Regions from separate parts of the Homo sapiens genome. Here regions 1, 2, 3 and 5 are each linked to region 4. Evidence: promoter capture Hi-C in 16 types of primary human blood cells and fetal thymus (Javierre and others, 2016). All regions are on one chromosome and are shown on one strand. The core of a region is centred on a gene start or on the middle of the fragment in contact, and the rest is flanking DNA. Distances in the headings are between cores, read along the strand shown.

What was found. Contacts are between HindIII fragments. The CHiCAGO score rates a contact against its expected background, and 5 or more counts as called.
Region 1: a fragment that was not itself captured here is called in contact with the fragment with the promoter of SYCP3 in region 4 in 4 of 17 cell types (naive B cells, M1 macrophages, M0 macrophages and 1 more); the score reaches 7.8 in naive B cells.
Region 2: a fragment that was not itself captured here is called in contact with the fragment with the promoter of SYCP3 in region 4 in 4 of 17 cell types (total B cells, naive B cells, M0 macrophages and 1 more); the score reaches 13.8 in total B cells.
Region 3: a contact is called between a fragment that was not itself captured here and the fragment with the promoter of SYCP3 in region 4, in 1 of 17 cell types (M1 macrophages). The highest score is 7.1, in M1 macrophages.
Region 5: a contact is called between a fragment that was not itself captured here and the fragment with the promoter of SYCP3 in region 4, in 2 of 17 cell types (neutrophils and total B cells). The highest score is 6.2, in neutrophils.

What each region holds. Positions count from the first base shown.
Region 1 is chr12:101,557,161-101,559,909 of GRCh38, reverse strand. No RefSeq gene overlaps it. Among named protein-coding and RNA genes, the nearest start is that of MYBPC1, 36 kb to the left of the region's middle. The HindIII fragment of the contact is 6,553 bases long and covers 1-2,749 here.
Region 2 is chr12:101,575,923-101,578,622 of GRCh38, reverse strand. No RefSeq gene overlaps it. Among named protein-coding and RNA genes, the nearest start is that of MYBPC1, 18 kb to the left of the region's middle. The HindIII fragment of the contact is 7,387 bases long and covers 1-2,700 here.
Region 3 is chr12:101,519,095-101,521,794 of GRCh38, reverse strand. No RefSeq gene overlaps it. Among named protein-coding and RNA genes, the nearest start is that of SPIC, 45 kb to the right of the region's middle. The HindIII fragment of the contact is 2,263 bases long and covers 150-2,412 here.
Region 4 is chr12:101,738,187-101,741,016 of GRCh38, reverse strand. It overlaps SYCP3 (synaptonemal complex protein 3), which reads left to right and starts at 1,555. Exons shown (of 9, transcript NM_001177949.2): 1 at 1,555-1,666. The HindIII fragment of the contact is 5,223 bases long and covers 1-2,830 here.
Region 5 is chr12:101,934,471-101,937,170 of GRCh38, reverse strand. It overlaps the pseudogene RPL9P24. Among named protein-coding and RNA genes, the nearest start is that of DRAM1-AS1, 28 kb to the left of the region's middle. RefSeq lists an enhancer at 606-865. The HindIII fragment of the contact is 1,756 bases long and covers 404-2,159 here.

The DNA.
Region 1 (2,749 bases), core at 199-2,698, 180 kb after region 4:
GTTGATAGATGCAGCAAACCACCATGGCACACGTTTACCTATGTAACAAACCTGCACGTCCTGCACACGTATCCTGGAACTTAAAATAAAATTAAATTAAAAGAATAAATAAATAAAATAAAGTATCAATAAAATTAAAGAGACAAATAATTCAATGTTAAAATACCAACTACTGACATTTACAAAATTTTAAGACCTTTTGCTTTTAATCATTGTGTAAGTAATTTTTGTAAAATTAAGATCGAGCAACATATCCTAATCTGCCTTTTCAAGTAACAGTAACTTACAGAGTTTTCCATTCACATATTCATTTACTTATTCATTTCATAAGTTATAAAGTGGTAGTAATCATAATGATATGCATATCTCATTTAATCCTCAGAGCAAATCTATGAGCTAGACACTATTGCTATTGCCATTTCTAAATAAAGACATCAAAGCTCACAGATAAGCAACGTGCCTATGGTCACACAGCCAGCAACTAGTAGAGCCAGAACTCAAACACATGCCCAACAGATACCATACTTCTGGCCTCTACTATTCTATTGCTCTATGACTTAGTACCTTGTGGTTTGCTTAACTACTGCCTGCTTTTCAGCCATGTGGGTTTTCTATAGCACTGCCGTAGAAACATTCATACCCTTTTTTATTTATTTATTTTTTATTATACTTTAAGTTCTAAGGTACATGTGCACAACGTGCAGATTTGTTACACATGTATAAATGTGCCATGTTGGTGTGCTGCACCCATTAACTCATCATTTACATTACGTATATCTCCTAATGCTATCACTCCCCGCTCCCCCCACCCCACGACAGGCCCCGGTGTGTGATGTTCCCCACCCTGAGTCCAAGTGTTCTCATTGTTCAATTCGCATCTATGAGTAAGAACATGCGATGTTTGGTTTTCTGTCCTTGCGATAGTTTGCTCAGAATGATGATTTCCAGCTTCATCCATGTCCCTAAAAAGGACATGAACTCATCCATTTTTATGGCTGCATAGTATTCCATGGTGTATATGTGCCACATTTTCTTAATCCAGTCTATACATTGATGGACATTTGGGTTGGTTCCAAATCTTTGCTACTGTGAATAGTGCTGCAGTAAACATACATGTGCATGTGTCTTTATAGCAGCACGATTTATAATCCTTTGGGTATATACCCAGTAATGGGATCACTGGGTCAAATGGTATTTCTAGTTCTAGATCCTTGAGGAATTGCCGCACTGTCTTCCACAATGGCTGAACTAGTTTACGTCCCACCAACAGTGTAAAAGTGTTCCTATTTCTCCACACCCTCTCCAGCACCTGTTGTTTCCTGACTTTTTAATGATTGCCATTCTAACTGGTGTGAGATGGTATCTCATTGTGGTTTTGATTTGCATTTCTCTGATGACCAGTGATGATGAGCATTTTTTCCATGTGTCTTTTGGCTGCATAAATGTCTTCTTTTGAGAAGTGTCTGTTCATATCCTTTGCCCACTTTTTGTTGGGGTTGTTTGTTTTTTTCTTGTAAATTTGTTTAAGTCCTTTGTAGATTCTGGATATTAGCCCTTTGTCAGATGGGTAGATTGTAAAAATTTTCTCCCATTCTGTAGGTTGTCTGTTCACTCTGATGGTAGTTTCTTTTGCTGTGCAGAAGCTCTTTAGTTTAATTAGATCCCATTTGTCAATTTTGGCTTTTATTGCCATTGCTTTTGGTGTTTTAGTCATGAAGTCCTTGCCCATGCCTATGTCCTGAATGGTCATACCATTTTTTTTTTTAAGGAAAGAAGTCATAAAGAGAAGAGATGTAGCTATTTCTTTGGCTATATCCCAAAGAGAGTATAATTCATTTAATCCTCCCCATAATGATTCCACTGATTTTCAAGGTCCCCAAATATCTGTCCACATACCAGTTTCTCAACGGACCGCCAACACGGAGGATTCTTTTTCTCAACAGTTTATACCTCCAACCTCAAGGTAACTAATGGTAACAGTTGATGTGTATCCTTCCACACATTTTTCTATTTTGGACAAATACATTTGTGCATATGTAAGCCTTTTCCTTTTTCCTTTTTAAATATTTGAATGTGCTGGGTGCCATGGCTTGTACCTATAATTTCAGCTACTTGGGAGACTGAGGCAGGAGGATGACTTGAGCCCAGAAGTTTAAGGCTGCAGTGAGCTCTGATCATGCCACAACACACCAGCCCAGGCAACAGAGCAAGACCCCATCTCTGAGGGAAAAAAAAATGTTGAATAGATTGAACTATGCACATTATAGTACAAATTTTTGATTTCCCTCAATATATCTCGAATATTACTAAGGCAATACATATAGCACTAATTCACTATTTTTATTAGTGTGAATATATAAAAATTTTTCATTTTTTCCATCTTATTGGTCATTCGAGTTGCTTCCAAAATTTTTGCCCAAATAATGCTTCAGTAAACATCCTTATATGAATAGCTTTATATTCTGGTACTTTCATTTATTTAGGAGAGACTTCAGGAAGAACAATTCCTGGGTAAAGGGGTATCATATTTTTTATTTTGGTGCATACTGCTACGTTTCCTTCCCCAAAACTTGTAGTAACTCAAAGTCTTAACAGCAACATATCGCAATGTCTATTGCACAATATCTTTGTCAGCACTGAATGCTACCAATATTTTAAATATTTCCCCCAATATTTTCCCCCCAAAATGGTATCTTATTATTATTATTTTTTGAGATGGAGTCTCGCTCTGTTGCCCAGGCTGAAGTGC
Region 2 (2,700 bases), core at 51-2,550, 160 kb after region 4:
AACTGGTTTGAAGTTGGCTTCGAATTACAGCTACTTGAGAATAGACAGAGAATTGGGTGATACAGATTAAAGGACAACCTTCTTTCAAGTGTCAAAGCCCAAAACACACTGTTTATAAAAAGAAGCTCAGGATGACAGTGGAGTAGAGAGAAGAATCACTAAGCATCTCCGGAGCTGTAGGTCTCAAGTCTGGACAAAATTTCTAGTTCTAAATGACTTTCATTAATTGGGGTGAGAGGGCAACCTCAGTTAACTAGTACAGTAATCATCTTCATTGAATATTCATTTTTTAAAACCCCAGAAAGATTTAGAACTATGTGTAGAAAATTTTCAGAGAATCAAAACTAATGCATTAATATTAGACATTTGTACTGTGCTAGTTAAGAGACAGTCTTGTAATTCTAATTTAAAATGTGTAATTGTGTAAATAATTTATACTTTTGGCCAGGCACGGTGGCTATCACCTGCAATCCCAGCACTTTCCGAGGCCAAGGTGGGCGGATCATTTGAGGTCAGGAGTTTGAAACCAGCCCGGCCAACGAAGCAAAACCCCATCTCTACTAAAAATTAAAAAAAAAATTGCCAGACATGGTGTCGCACACCTGTGATCCTAGGTGTTCAGGAGCCTGAGGCATTAGAATCTCTTGAAACTGGGAGGCAGAGGTTGCAATGAGCAGAGATTGTGCCACTGCACTCCAGCCTGGGAGACAGAGTGAGACCCTGCCTCCAAAAAATAAAAAATTAAAAAAAATTTATACTTTTGATTTTAAGTTGAAATCTCACTAAATTTATGGGCAGCATTAACATATTTCAGAGCGTTTTCATTTATGCACATGTACATGCACAGCAGTTAAGCATTTAAGAACTCATTTAGTTCATAAAAGCAAAATATTTAAAAAGAAAACAAATATATTAAACTTATAAAATCTAGCCTATTAAAGTGATGTGATGTTTTAGAAAGATTATTTAGCTTTAGCTAACTAGATTTGTAAATGAAACAATATTATTATATCTTCTCAAAAGTGATGGATAGACTGGGCATGGTGGCTCACATCTGTAATCCCAGCGCTTTGGGAGGTCAAGGAGGACGGATCACCTGAGGTTGGGAGTTCAAGACCAGCCTGACCAACACGGAGAAACCCCATCTCTACTAAAAATACAAAATTAGCTGGGGCGTGGTGGCGCATGTCTGTAATCCCAGCTACTCGGGAGGCTGAGGCAGGAGAATCGCTTGAACCCAGGAGGCAGAGGTTGCGGTGAGCTGAGATTGCACCATTGCACTCCAGCCTGGGCAACGAGAGTGAAACTCTGTCTCAAAAAAAAAAAAAAGTGATGGATAAACTTTGCCAGAAAAAATAATAATAATTAGATGTTTAAGCTGAATTTAAAAGTTTTAAAAATTATGCTTATGAATGTATAATTATAATAAATTTAATACCTATTGTGTATTCCAAAGTAAACCTCTGAACAACGTTTTCCGCATACAAAAGCCTCCACAGCACCCTAAACCTTCCACGCATAGGGAGCATCTCTTGCTTCTGATTTGATTCCACCAGCATCCTGAGATAACTAAGACTCTGTGGCCAATCTTTAGGGGATTTCAATTCAATTCATCTCAACACCCCTTTATTGAGCACCTTTTCTGGGCCCAGCACAGTGTTAGCACTGGCTATTCAACAAAGAAGAAGATCCAGAGTGTTGCCTGCATAGAACCTATAGTTTCGGGGAAGACAGGCAAGTAAACAGTTATGCTAGTGGCGGTTTACCACATTATTTCCCATGGTGGTGGGATGGGTTGAGCACCTCTTCATACCAGCTCATTCTTGCCGATGCCATCTTGCCATTGTTGGTCTATGATAGTTTTTGTTGGTGGCACCATGAAACTATTCAAGAAGCCAGATATTATTTCTTTCATTGGTTGAAGAAGCTGTGTCTCCACCTGCATAAAGGATTTCTTAGGGTCAAAGTTGCATTCGCTACACAGAATGGCTGTTGTTTCTCCCATTTTTCTCATCAGGTGAATAGTCCCACCTTCACCCCAATCATGCAGATTAGGAGATTTGACTCCTCATTAACTCCACCATCCTCCAAGCTCTACTAAGTCTATTTCCACCATTACACCATGGTCATTTCCTGTCAGAGACAAATGGAGATTATCATAATTCAACATATAGATCAAGTCTCCAGTTACATTCATAGATCTTTGCTTGTATGCAATTTGCATCCTGGGACATATTTCCAAGCATACTTTCTCAAGTAGAAGATCTAGAGAGTCACATCCAAATGAATTTTATGTAAATGTCCTAAATCTCCAACAGCATGTTAAAAATTCTACAGTTTGCATGTCATCTTGAGCCCTCCACACAGGACCTTGGCCATGTCCCATGAAGTTTGGGTCTGCTCTATAATCTCAATAAGAGAATTCTAATTTTTTTCCAGAAAGCTCCTGAAGATGGAGAAGTTTGAGAGATGGTATCAAAGATATCATGATACCTCTTATACCTTCCTATATGGGATTAAGAACTTTTCCACAAAGATCCTTCTAATCCTAAGGGCTATGTGGATCGGCTGTCTGAACCTTCCAGGCTAACAACACAGAGCAAATATTTTTAAGCTGAAGCTAGGACAACCAACTTGAAAAAATGCTTGACAGCATTTACAAAAAGCTCAGTGTGACCCAGCAATTCTACTTCCAGGTTT
Region 3 (2,700 bases), core at 32-2,531, 220 kb after region 4:
CTGCATCGATGCCATGTGGATGCTCAGAAGAGTAACATAAGGTCCCCTTCTAAACAAACAATCAAACTGGGTTTTCCAAAGTGGGCAAGGGAGGGTGGGTGTCTCAACAAGTCCCTGGGGAGTACCAGTGTCCAGAGAAGAGACAAGCTTCGAGTTCAACTAGTAGATCTTTAAGGACTCAAAATGTAATTTCCCCAAATACATTGTCTCTCAATAAAAAAAAAAAAAAGAAGTTTGGAAGTTTATAAGATGTTTCATTCAAAGGAGACTTTGAATAGGAGACTTAAGAGTCTCCCTACTTTTGAATCCTTAGAAAAATTTATATTATGACTGATATAGTTTGGCTCTCTGTCCCCATCCAAATCTGATGTCAAACTGTAATCCCCATGTGTCAGGGAAGGACCTGGTGGAAAGTGATTGCATCATGGGGACAGATTTCCCCCATGCTGTTCTCATGATAGTGAGTGAGTTCTCACGAGATCTGATGGTTTAAAAGTGTGACATCTCCCCCCACCACTTGTCTTCTGCCTCCCTGTGAAGAAAGTGCTTGCTTCCCCATCATGATTGTAAGTTTCCAAAGGCCTCCCAGTCATGCTTCCTGTTAAGCCTGCAGAACTGTGAGTCAATTAAACCTCTTTTCTTCATAAATTACCCAGTCTCAGGTAGTTCTTTATAGCAGTGAGAAAACAGACTTATACACTGCCACACTCTTGCAATTACTTTATTTTTTGCAACAAAGTTCTGTTTGGGGAAGAGTTATTTGTCTGAAACCACCTCGATCAATGTTCATCTGAAAGGCTTATAAAATTGGTAAAAATGGAGATGAAAAATCTAACACAGATTTAGTTATAATTTCTGAGGATGTGACTTCACAATTGTGAGTGTTGGTGTCAGCAAGATTTTTAAAGTTCACTTTAAATTTATTCCTTCTATCTTACTATATGTTGTACCCTTTAATCCACTTCTATTCATCCCCTCCTCTCCCCACAGCTCACCCTTCCCAGTCTCTGTTATCTATATTTTCACTCTTACCTCCATGTGAGCAAATATTTTAGCTCCCACATATGAGCCAGAATGTGTGGTATTTGTCTTTTTGTGCCTGGCTTATTTCACTTAAGATAATGGCTTCCAATTCCATCCATGTTGCTGCAAATGACATGACTTTATTCTTTTTTATGGTCTAATAGTTTCCTATTGTGCGTATATAACACATTTTAAAATCCAGTCATCTGTTGATGGACATTTAGGTTGATTCCATATCTTTGCTATTGCGAATAGCTCTGTGATAAACATGTGAGGACAGGTATCCCGTTGATATATTGATTTCTTTTCTTGTGGGTAGATACCCAGTAGTGGGATTGCTGGATCATATGGAAGTTCTATTTTTAGTTTTTTGAGACACCTCCATACTGTTTTCCATAGTGGCTATTCTAATTTTCATTCCCACCAACAGTGTGTAAGAGTTCTCTTTTTTCCGCATCCTAGCCATCTGTTATTTTTTTGTATAAAAAAGATGACCTTAACGTTTGCAAATGAGTACTTGGTCTTGCAATGACATTTCTTGTAATGGAATCATAAGTGATTCAAGGAGAGCTATAGAAACAATTCAGATGGCAAGGACAAATTAGGTTGGTGGCTTAAAAAGTGGCCCCAGTGACTTGGATGCTAAAGACCCATGTAAAAATGGAATAAAAACATTCTGTAGAATAAGAACACTTTTAAAAAACACTTTTCCTGGCCAGGCGCAGTGGCTCACACCTGTAATCCCAGCACTTTGGGAGGCTGAGGAGGGTGGATCACGAGGTCAGGAGTTTGAGACCAGCCTGACCAACATGGTGAAACCCCATCTCTACTAAAAACACAAAAATTAGCTGGGTGTGGTGGCAGGCACCTGTAATCCCAGCTACTCAGAAGGCTGAGGCAGGAGAATAACTTGAACCCAGGAGGCGGAGGTTGCAGTTAGCTGAGATCGTGCCGTTATACTCCAGCCTGGGTGACAGAGCAAGACTTTGTCTCAAAAAAAAAAGCAGTTTTTCTGAGTTAATATTGGCTGTGGGTTGAAAGTATGTGTCCCCTCCAAATTCATATTTTGAATCTCTAATTCCCAATGTGACTGTATTGGAGTAAGGATGTAATTAAGGTTAAAAGGGGTCTTTAAGGGTGGGGCCCTGATCTCCTGGGATTAGTGTCTTTATAAGAAGAGACACTAAAGAGTTCTCTGTCTCTCGCCTTCTCCTCCCCACCTCTTGAGGACAGAGCAAGAAGATAGCAATTGCCATGCCAGGAAGGGAGCCCTCATTGGGAACTAAATTGGCTGGCACCTTGATCTTGGACTTCCCACACTCCAGAACTGTGAGAAATAAATTTCTGTTGTTAAAGCCACCAAGTCTGCTGTGTTTTGCTGTAGAAGCTTATATTAGTCAGGGTTCTCCAAAAAAATAGAATGTGTGTGTGTGTGTGTGTGTGTGTGTGTGTGTAAAGAGATTTATTGTAATGAATTGGCTTATCCAATTATAAAGGCGGAGAAGTCTCAAGATCAGCAGTCAGTGAGCTGGAGATGTGGGACAGCTGATGGTGTAGCTCCAGTCTGAATTTGAAGGCCTGAGAACCAGGAGAGCCTGCAGTGTTAAGTGGTTTCAGTCTGACTTCAGAGGCAAGAAAAGACCAATGTCCCAACTCAAGCAGTGAGACTAGAGTTCT
Region 4 (2,830 bases), core at 306-2,805:
CCAAATATTAAAGAAGTAAAATATAGGCCAGGCAAGTTGGCTCATGCCTGTAATCCCAGCACTTTGGAAGGCCGAGGTGAGAGGATCATTTGAGCCTAGGAGTTTGAGAACAGCCTGGGCAACATAGTGAGACCCCATCTCGGCAAACTTTTTTTTTTTTTTTTTCTTAATTAGCCAGGCATGGTGGCACGTGCATGAGTCCCAGCTACGCAGGAGGCAGAGACAGGGGGATCATTTGGGCCCAGGAAATCAAGGCTGCAGTGAGCCGTGATCATGCCATGCCACTGCACTTCAGCCTTGGCAAGAGAGCAAAACCCTGTCTCAAAAAAAAAAAAAAAAAAAAAGTAAAATGTATGATTTCAAATAGAAAAAGGATTGCAGAGCTGTGAGCAAACTAAGGCAGGTACAAAGGTTGAAATATATTTTAAAATTATTTGGGGGAAAATACATATAAGCACAGAAAAAAGGATGAAAGGCAATAATACCCCCAATTTTAAACTGTATATTATTTCTGGGTAGTGGGATTATAGGTGAGTTTCATTTCCTTCATAAATTGTATCTTCAAAAATTGTTTTGCAATTGATAGGTGATTTCCAGTTACACCAAATAATTGTTTTACAATTATACTCCCACCCACTGAATGGGTTCCCTTTGTTACATAGATTCATCATCACTCCGTGTAGTCATATTTTGTAGTTTTGCCATTCTAGTGGACTGTCAGAACACTACATAGACTATGGGACAATTTTTTGTAATGCCAAACGCGAACGAAACTAAGCCGTGTTGTTTAACGACACATTTTCATGTGGTAATAAAACTTAGAAAATAAGGAAGGGTGAATGATTTACATAAATTTAGGATAATTTTCTTATATCCCTGAATGGGGAAGGGTGGGGTCCTGGTGAGGATCGGATGGAAAGGCCTGCCTGAGGAGATTCAGTGAATGTTGGTAAAGCCCTACTTCATAAATTAGGTGGTATGTTCATCATGTTTCATAATTTACATATTATTCCGCAATTTTCTTTTTTTTTTTCTTGACATGGAGTCTCACTCTGTTGCCCAGGCTGGAGTACAATGGCATGGTCTTGCTCACTGCAACCTCTGCCTCCCGGGTTCAAGCGATTCTCCTGCCTCAGCTTCCCAAGTAGCTGGGATTACAGGCGCCCGCCACCACGTCCGGCTAATTTTTGTATTTTTAGTAGAGATGGGTTTCGCCATGTTGGACAGGCTGGTCTGGAACTCCTGACCTCAAGTGATCCGTCTGCCTCGGCCTCCCAAAGTGCTGGGATTACAGGTGTGAGCCACTGCGCCTAGCTGCAATTTTCGATTATAAACATTTAAAACTTAAAAACTGGAAGGCACCAGGCCTCAAGTGTACTCGCAACCCGCTCCGGCGGCCAAAGCACCCTGGGCCAGCTATTTGGGCGCGCAATCGCCCCATGGGGGCGGAGCCTCGCCACCCAGTTCACGCCTGCGCTCTGCGTCCAGCCAATCAGCGACGTGTCCGGATGAGGCGGGACTGGCTTTTCTCCTGTGCGAATCCCAGCTTGCCTCAGAAGCGTCGCGGAGAAGGGGCCACCTCAGGTGAAGCGCGCTTGTGGAGGAGTTGTGGAGGACGCCTGTCGACGACCAGTAACTGGTCCTCGGCCATTGCGGTGTGTTTCAGGTGTGAGCAGGGGAGGCGTCTGTCTATCGCAGGTGTCCAGGCCAGAGGCTGCCCTTGACCAGTGAGGTAAATCTTACCTCCTGGCGTCGCCTGGGGCCTCTGACGAGAAAACGGAGGCCGCGAACCTGAGGACAGGGCCTTGAGCAGGATAGGGCCTAGTGGAAAGCGGGCGGGCTGGGCTGGGGCTGGGCCCCATCGCTACACCCTGGGACCACTTACAGGAGGGACGCGGCGGGGCCGGGCAGGGCCCTACCTCGCTCCGCGCGTCTCCCTCCTGCCCGCTCCACGCCGAGGGCGCCTTTCGTGGTTCCTCGATGTATTTGTTGTCGAAATCTTCTGCCTGTGTTCATTTTCCGAGACCTAAATTGCGGGACGTTTTTATTATTTGTCTTGATTATTATGAGCTTATTTCTGGCATCCTCATGTCGTGTCCCGCCAGCAACTATAATTTCCCCGCGTGACTGAGCGCCCTGCTAGAGTTGCCCAGATTTAGCCAGAATCTGGCAGAGGCGGCCCCAAAATTTGGAACTCCCAGGCCTCAGGGGCCACCTCTCCAGCACTGCGCGCTTGGAGTCGGGGTGGACACTGTCATTCTCTCTCATCGATTGATTGATTGAGACGAAGTCTCACTCTGTCGCCCAGGCTGGAGTGCAGTGGGGCCATCTCAGCTCACTGCAACCTCCGCCTCCCGGGTTGAAGCGATTCTTCTGCCTCAGCCTCCTGAGTAACTGAGATCATAGGCACCCGCCACCGCGCCCGGCTAATTTTGTATTTTTAGTAGAGACGGGGTTTCACCATGTTGGCCAGGCTGGTCTCAAACTCCTGACCTCAGGTGATCCACCCACCTCGGCCTCCCAAAGTGATGGGATTACAGGCATGAGCCACAGCGCCCGGCCATTTCTGTTGTTGTTTTTTTTTTTTGAGACGAAGTTTCACTCTTGTCACCCAGGCTGGAGTGCAGTGGCTGCGATCTTGGCTCACTGTGACCTCTGTCTCCCGGGTTCAAGCGATTCTCCTGCCTCAGCCTCCTGAGCAGCTGGGACTACAGGCACGTGCCACCACGCCCGGTTAATTTTGTTTTTTTTTTTCAGTAGAGACGGGGTTTCATCATGTTGGCCAGGCTGGTCTTGAACTCCTGACCTCAGGTGATCTGCCTGCCTCAAC
Region 5 (2,700 bases), core at 32-2,531, 200 kb before region 4:
TTTTCATGCCAACTCAACTTAGCTATCAATCAACAATTCCACTCATTTAATAAGCACCTATTTGCTTATTGAGTGTCTGTTACATGCCAGGTGCTGTGCTAGATTTCAGGGATGCAAAGGGGAACATGACGCTTTTTAAGTTATGTTCCTCTTAGAATGCTAGGCATTCAGAGAGACAGAGGAATATCAAATATTATGGGTTTAGGATGTCTAGGAACTCACCATATAACTGGAGAAAGGAGACTATGTATTTGGAGAATAATAAGTGTTAAACTGTGTGCCATGGGTGATGAGGGTAAGAGAAACTTCAAGGTAACTGAGGTCAGCAAGGCCTGGAGCATTCAGGAGAGGAGAAGCGTCTTGGAGAGATACTTCTGTGAGGTCTTTAAAGGGTGAGGAAGCTTTGTTTATGACTACATGTGTTTAAAGTGCAGTATTTTCACAACATCACACTAAGTGAGGCCCTCTGCATCTGGAGGCGTTCTGGAATGCAGCCGTCAGCCAGTGGCCCTGTTCCTTTCTCAGAGACAGGACTACCACCCACAGCTCTTCTGATAGCCTTGTTTTCAATTGCCATGGCCTGTTGGATCAAAGCCTCTGAGTTTGATGCAAGTTCAAAATAATTTCCTTCAAGGATTAACTCATCTTTTTGGGCCTGAGGAGCTACAACAAGCAACATCTGGTATAGCCTGCAGAGGGATTTTTTTTTTCACCCAAGGAGTTTCAAGTTTCAACATGTGAGCCATCCTGCTGAATAACATCATTGACGGGAAATGACACGCAGAGACCTTATCTTGTAATGAGAGCTCTGTGTAACACCCCACAGTCATGTTTTGCATCGACTATAATAGATGGTGCAAACTGTAACAGGTTCCTTCTCACTTTGTTTCCTGCCAAAGTGACTGAGTTCCACACTGATGGGGTTGAAATCCCCTTGTGGGTTTCCTCTGGGGCCATTCCATAGCCCATCCTAGTGCCGTTAATAACACCCTCCCTGTGTTCGTCAGGCCCACCTTTTAATGCCGTCATAGGGAGTCTCTTGGTCAGTTCCTATTATCTGATCCCATTAGTCACTTCCCTGTCTGCCTAGGTCTCCTGGAAAATTCCTGGGACTATCTCCTTGCTTTTGGTAAATCCTGGCTTCATTCCTCCACGCTGTGTTTTCTGTATTCCCAGCTCTCCCCTTTGCATCCCTTGGGCTAGTCCCACCACCCCTGGAATTCTCTCTGAGGTCAAGATTTTGCAATGTTTTTAAAGGTGAAACAGTGTAATAGCTACAGTTGAGTGTTATGTGTCAGGGATGTATTATTTATAGGGGTGCTATTATCATCACCCATGACTTACCAGTGAGAAAAATGAGGCTCAGAGTTTGATTGAATTGCCCAGGTACAAGACATAAACCCACATCTTTCTCACACTTAAGACTGTGCTCTTTTTAAGGGATAAAATAGGGACCTAAAGAATGGTCATGGGAGTCCCGAGTTCCAAGCAGAGGAGGGAGAAGGAAAGAGAAATGAGGAAAACTCCAAGAGTGGCAGCTCTGAATTCAAAGGAGGAGAATTTTGAGACATAGTCAACTGCGTCTAAAGCTGGAACAGGTTTGAGAATATAGACACCATTGGCATGAAGATGCCTATTGGCAAATCTTTTCAACAAAGATTTCAGTAATGGGTCTGGAAGAGGTTATTAGGAAGAGGGTAAAACGATATAGATGGCAAACAAAAGCAAAGAGCAGCCACATAGATGGTGGAATAAAGCAGGTGAGTTGTTTTGTATCCACTAAATGGAAAACTCTGGGGCAGGTCCCAGAAACTGTGTTTTAACAAACCCTCCAGGTGATTCTGATGCACACTAAAGTTAGCAAACCGCTACAGCAGAACCGTGTTTCTCAGCCTTGGCTGCACACTGAAATCACCTGAAATAATAATGCTTCCATCTGACTTCCTGAAATTCTGATTTAATTGCTCCAGGCAACAGGGTTTTAAAAAAAAACTCTCCAGGTGATTCTCATGTGCAGCCAGAGTTGAAAACTGCTGCTGTACAGGGAGAAGACAGTTGAGGGTATGCAGTCGAGAGGGAGGTGGAAGGGCTATAACAGCATCTGCCATGCACAGCTCTGGCTGTGCCAGGCAAACTGCTAAGGCTGGGCATTTCAAGCTTCAATGGGCAGGCATAAGGATCACCAACAAGTTCCCAGGTGCTTTACAGGCATTGCTTCAAGGAATCCTCGTGACAAGCCTACAAGGCAGGTGCTAGCATTATTCCCACTTTACAGATAAGGGTACTGAGACACCAAGACGTTATCTGACTTGACTGAGGCGTGACAGAAAGGAAATGGTAGGTCTTGAAAATTAGGTCTTGATTCCAAAGTACTTATTCTTTAAAAAAATTATGATAAAATATACATAACATAAAATGTACCACTTTAATCATTTTAAAGTATTTACAATTTCATGGTATTCACAATGTTGTACAACTATCCATTTCCAGGAATTTTTCACCATCCCAAACAGAAACTCTTGTCCATTAAGCAATAATTCCCCATCTCCCCCTGTCCCCAGCCCCTAGTAACTTCTATTCTGCTTTTTCTTTATGAATCAAAGTACTCATTCTTAATCACTATGTTTCAGGATTGGCTCAAATATGAGATGGAGGTATCAAATTTGATCAAACTTTTTCCTTGAATTGATGGCATGTCTG